Linked DNA regions of Homo sapiens: region 2 is linked to region 1. The links are contacts of gene promoters, found by promoter capture Hi-C in human tissues and cell types (Jung and others, 2019). All regions are on one chromosome and are shown on one strand. Each heading gives the region's core, a stretch centred on a gene start or on the middle of the fragment in contact. The rest is flanking DNA. Distances are from core to core; before and after follow the strand shown. Region 1 holds the start of MOXD1 (monooxygenase DBH like 1). Region 2 has its middle 3.5 kb from the start of SLC18B1.

The links. Contacts are between HindIII fragments. The study calls those that stand out against the background at their distance.
Region 2: a fragment that was not itself captured here is called in contact with the fragment with the promoter of MOXD1 in region 1 in 1 of the 25 tissues and cell types used here (H1 embryonic stem cells).

The regions. Positions count from the first base shown.
Region 1 is chr6:132,400,052-132,402,751 of GRCh38, forward strand. MOXD1 (monooxygenase DBH like 1) reads right to left here and starts at 1,424. Exons shown (of 12, transcript NM_015529.4): 1 at 1,112-1,424. The coding sequence starts at 1,375. RefSeq lists silencers at 1,128-1,177, 1,308-1,477, 1,498-1,637. The HindIII fragment of the contact is 14,314 bases long and covers 1-2,700 here.
Region 2 is chr6:132,800,805-132,803,504 of GRCh38, forward strand. No RefSeq gene overlaps it. Among named protein-coding and RNA genes, the nearest start is that of SLC18B1, 3.5 kb to the left of the region's middle. The HindIII fragment of the contact is 3,907 bases long and covers 1-2,700 here.

The DNA of each region.
Region 1 (2,700 bases), core at 174-2,673:
ACTTTTTATTGTTGTCACTTTATTTCCTTCCAGAGTTAACAGCTCAGTGCCAGAATCAGCGTTCAAGTTTGATGGCATATTTCAGTCGAAAAGAACCTGGGGATAAAATTACTAAGAAGCGCACTCTAAATCCACGGAGAACACTGATTTAAATACTATCAAAGCCTTAATGCAATGCCAGAACAATTCGGAGTTTTCATCTGGATCAAGACTTTTAGCAAAGGGCAGTATGTTCGGATGAATTTTTATAATAACAAAGCGTGTACGTTCACCGCCATCCAAACGTTGGTCACGATCAAGCAAGGATGTCCAGGAAACCTAGCCACCTAATCATTCTGGTCATCTCACAATCTTCTTCTTCCTTTTTTTTTTTCTTTCTATTTAGTAAAGCACCCATGAACAGGCAAGGTGGTTACTTAGGCTCCTTCAAAGTAAATCAGCAGCGGTCAAATTAACTTTATTGGTTATTAAAGTAAGCCAAAGTTTTGTCACTTCATAGGATATTTTGCCTGGGGACCTTCGATTTTGGTCTCTAAATGTGGCTTCCTGAACAGCTCTCGGAATAGGAAAGTCCCTAAGCGATTCTTAGGGGCCCTTCATTCTTCTGGAGAATGGTGTAGCTGACATCAGCCCCGCGCCTGGAGGCTCCCAAATAGCCACGATTTGGGAAGTTCTGAGATTTCCACTCCTAGACAGCAAGTCCGCGACGTACTAAAGCGCTCTGTCCCTTCCCTCCTCTGAGAGCTGTCCCATTAGGTCCCCAAAGCCAAAGCCTAGGTCCTTCTCCCTTCCCATCAGGGATGAAGCGGGGTGTATTGCAGGTGTGTAGGCGGGGGGGCGTCTATTAAGTGGGGCGCTGGGGACAGGAAAGTGTTCAAAGAAGGAAACCTGCCTGGGGTCATCCGTGCTCGGCTTCCCTACCGCGCGCCTTCTGGGGCTCCGGGAGAGCAGGCGCTGCCCGCGGAGGCGAGAGTGAGCGTGGCCGGGGGCGCGGGGCTGCGCCAGGTGAGAGAGAGCTGCGGGCCCCGGGGACGACCCGCACCTGCGCCCTCTCTGGGGTCCGGACGGGACCGGGCTCGGCCGGGCGGGCTCCGGGAGGAGACGCGCTTACCTGGAGGTAGGGCCGCCCGTGGGCCACCCCGCCCACGACGATGTCGGCGGACGCCATGGCCCCGGTGGGCGAGAAGCCGAAGCCCACGTAGCCTGCAGTGCGCACCTGGAGGCGGAAGGCGATCTGGCTGCCCCGCTGGCTCCAGCCCAGCCAGTACTTGCCCTCCGAGTCCAGGAGGGTCCGGTGCGGATAGGTTCGGCCCGAGCCCCCCGCCGCCGTCCCGGGGAGCAGCCCCCACAGCAGGAGCAGCGGCCAGCAGCACATCCTCGGGCGCCTCCTGCCCGCCGGTACCGGCCTCCAGCCGCTGGGGAGTGAGGAGCAGAACGAGGAGCGGCAGCGGCGGCGAGCGGGAGCCCAGGGACCGCCCCTCGGGCCGGCCGCGCGCCCGCCCGGGAGGGGCAGGACCCGCTCTCCCCGCCCCGGGCCGCCTGCAGGGCGCGCCGCGTCCCGTCCGGTCCCGTCCCGTTCCGTCCCGTCGGGTCCCAGCCCCGCCAACTCTCACCCTGCCCGGCCCTTCCAGCGGATCCACTTGCAGCCCCCGACCCCTGACTTGGTCCCCGAGGTCGGGGCTCGGTGGGAAGGAAAGCGAGGGGCTTCCCGGAAAGAAAGGGAGGAGGAGGCAGGAGGAGGCAGACGCCGAGAGAGGAGAAAAGGAGGCCAGAGGCAGAGGGAAAAGGAGGAGGGCAAGAGAATCCTAGAGCGGGAAGAGCGTGGGCTCTGCGGGACGTGGGCGAGAGGTTACCAGGGAAAGAATGGACATTGACGGCAGAGAGCAAGTTTAGCCTGGAGAGGAGGAATTGAGTGAGCAAAGGGGGTAGTCTGGGGTGCGATGCACAGAAAGGCCCGTCCAGGGTAACCTTCACGTCTCCGTATCCGTTGCTGTCGACTTTCCAGAGCCTTTGTTCCCAGTGACGTCCCTATTGCAATGGAGGGACACACTTCACTTTCCCCAGCCCCCCACCTCGAGAATTTCTCTCACCCTCCCACCCTGCGGGGCCGCAGAGCTTGCTCCTCACGGCAGGAGTTGGAGCCCTGACGCTTGCCTTCACCTAGTTTTTGTTTGGTTTGGTTTGGCGTTGATGGGACAAAGTCAGCCAAACTACTTTGCCATCAGCAGAGAAGGTAAGGGGTGAATTGTCATTTGAGAGTTATATTTTAATTTAACATTCTCTTTTCTTGCTATTCCAAGTTCTGGCCATAACCATGTTTGTCAAAAGTTTGTTTTGTTTTGGTTTTGCCTCTACCTTTGACCACTCCTGTCTTTAGAATGCTAAATACAAATATGGCCACTAAAATTTACCTTGCTTATTTATTCCTTTATTTATGATCTGCCAAGTTTCCAAAAAAGTTCGAAATTTTGTCTTTATAAAAATACAAACAATGCAAAATAGAAAAACAAATAAGAGAGAATATCAGATGAGAAATATGGGTAAGAAGAGCAAGCTCCACACTAGCCACCCTACACTCCTCATTCTCTCTCCTCACCTCGTATTTCAGCCTGTTTTTCCCCCTGCCTATCTTTTCCCATAACTTTTCCAAAGTTACCGTCATGCATCTAATTTATATTCTTCTAAGGATACGGGAATATT
Region 2 (2,700 bases), core at 200-2,699, 400 kb after region 1:
CCCTAAAGTAGCCTTATGAAATCTTTATGATCTAACCCCTGACAGCTTCTCCAATCTCATTTAACTCTATGCTTTCTCTTCAATCTAACATCAATCTGTAGAGGGAAATTTTCTTGAATGATTTCTTTGATGATTACATTTCCTCTTTTATTTTCTTTCTGGACTGCACTTTATGTGAATGTTGGGTCACCCAAACTGGTCCTTTTACTTATTTCTCTTTTTCTTCTCTCTTTTATTTTATTTTATTTTTTTTAGACAGGGTCTCACTCTGTTTCCCAAGCTACCATGACATATAATGGCTCACTGCAACCTCAAATTCCTGAGCTCAACTGATCCTCCCACCTCAGCCTCCCGAGTAGGTGGGACTATAGGCCTGTGCCACCACACCTGGCTAGTTATTATTTTTTCTTTTTTTTTCCTCCATGTTATAGGAAGTATCCCTAACTGTATCTTGCCATCTGAATTTTTGCCAACTGAATCTTGCCAACTGTATCTTGCCAATTGAATGTTTCATTTCTGTTGCCATCTATTTCCTTGTATCTCCATTCTCATTCCTCTCCCCATTTGCAATAATTCTTGCATGTTTAATGCAAATCTTGTTCTTTATGTTCTCAAAAAAATCTATGTTCTTATGTGTCCATCTACTTTTAATTTACATAAAGTCTATTCATATCCCTATCCTCCGCTCCTCTTGTAATCTCTACCTCTCATTCTCCCTTCAGATAATCAGTTTTATAATCAAATATATTATTGTGTTAGTTTTCTGGGGCTGCTGTACAAATCAACACAAATTTGATAGCTTAAAACAAGGTCCTCAAAGCCAGAAGTTCAACATCAGTTTCACTGAGCCAAAATCAAGGTGTCAGCAGGATCATGTTCCCTCTAGAAGCTCTAGGGAAGAGTCTGTTTCTTGCCCCTTGAAGCTTCTAGTGACTATTGGCATTTTGTGCCACATCACTGTAGTCTCTGTTTCTGTGATCACTGTGCCTCTTCTTTTCTGTGTGTAATCTTCGTTTGCCAGTCTCTTGTAAGGATATTTTGAATGAATTTAGGGCCCACCTGGATAATCCAGGATGACCTCTTCATCTCAAGTTCTCCAATTTAGTCACATCTGCACAGACCCTTTTTTTCATATAAGGTAACATTTACAGGTTCCAGGGATTAGGATGTGGACGTATCTTTGGAATCCATTATCAGCCTACCACAATTATCTATTCATAGTTTGATATGCTCATTTAGACATTCATACACATATGGAATATTTGTTTCTTTACAAACTAAAATGGAGTAATATGGTCTTTGTTTAAATGCCACCTCCTCAGAGAAATTCATTCTTTTTTATTATTTATTTATTTAATAATAGAGATGAGGTTTCACCATGTTGCCCAGGCTGGTGTCAATCTCCTGGACTCAAGCAATCCATCTGCCCTGGTTCCCCAAAGTGCTGGGATTACTGCCGTAAGCCACCATACCTGGCCAAGAAATTCATTCATTTTTTTTTTTTTTTTTTTTTTTGAGATGGAGTTTCACTCTTGTTGCCCAGGCTGGAGCACAATAGTGCTATCTTGGCTCACCACAACCTCCACCTCCTAGGTTCAAGCGATTCTCTTGCCTCAGCTTCCTGAGTAGCTGGGACTACAGGCATGCGCCACCATGCCCAGTTAATTTTGTATTTTTAGTAGAGACAGGGTTTCTCCATGTTGGTCAGCCTGGTCTCAAACTCTCAACCTCAGGTGATCCTCCCGCCTCGGCCTCCCAAAGTGCTGGGATTACAGGCGTGATCCACCGCGCCCGGCTAAGAAGTTCATTCTTATGCCCTTATCCAAATACAGCCCTAGTCCTCCTTTGTCCTTTCACCTTTCTATTTTTCTTCCTGGCATTTCTATCAGTCAGAGTTCCCTGTTGCTAATAAAAAACAAAGCAACGTTGGCTAATTTAAGCAGAAAATGAATTCATCATTGATTATTAGGTAACACATAGTATCATCAGGAGGATCATGCATACCACTTAGAGGCTAAGTGCCTAAAGTCACACCACCTAAGCGGTCCAGTATGCATGGCACTGCAACCCTGCTGGACGTACATCTCCAGCACATGCTGCCAATACCACTGGAGCCAGGTATGAGACACTGTAATTAGAACATCATCCCCACTCCTCAAGAATGCTGCCACTCTCACCAGAAGAGATTTTAGGTGGTGCTAGCTTCTTCCACTCACTTGCTTCCATTGCATATCAAGACCCAATGTGTTTGAAGTCAGGCAGTAAAAAGTGTCCAAGTACGTTCTTCTTTTTCAAGAGTGGTTTGAATATTTTAGTTACTTTGACTTTCTAGAGAAATATCACAATTAGCTCTCATATTCTCCAAACAACCTGGTGGAATTCTTACTGGTATTTTTTTTACTCCATATATCAATTTGGAGAGAACTGATATTGAATCACTATTAAGCTTTTAATCCATGAACATAGTATATCTCTCCAATTATATAGATATTTCTTTCATAACATTTTCACATTTTTCACCGTGTAGGTATTATATGCCTCATGTTAAATTTATTCCTAAATACCTTAGTTTTAGAAGCTACTAAAATTGATATTTTTATGTTTAAATTTCCAACAATTTGCTGATTATATATAAAGGTAAATGAACTTTTATATTAATCTGGTATCCTGCAATCTTGCTAAATTTCCTCATTAGTTCTA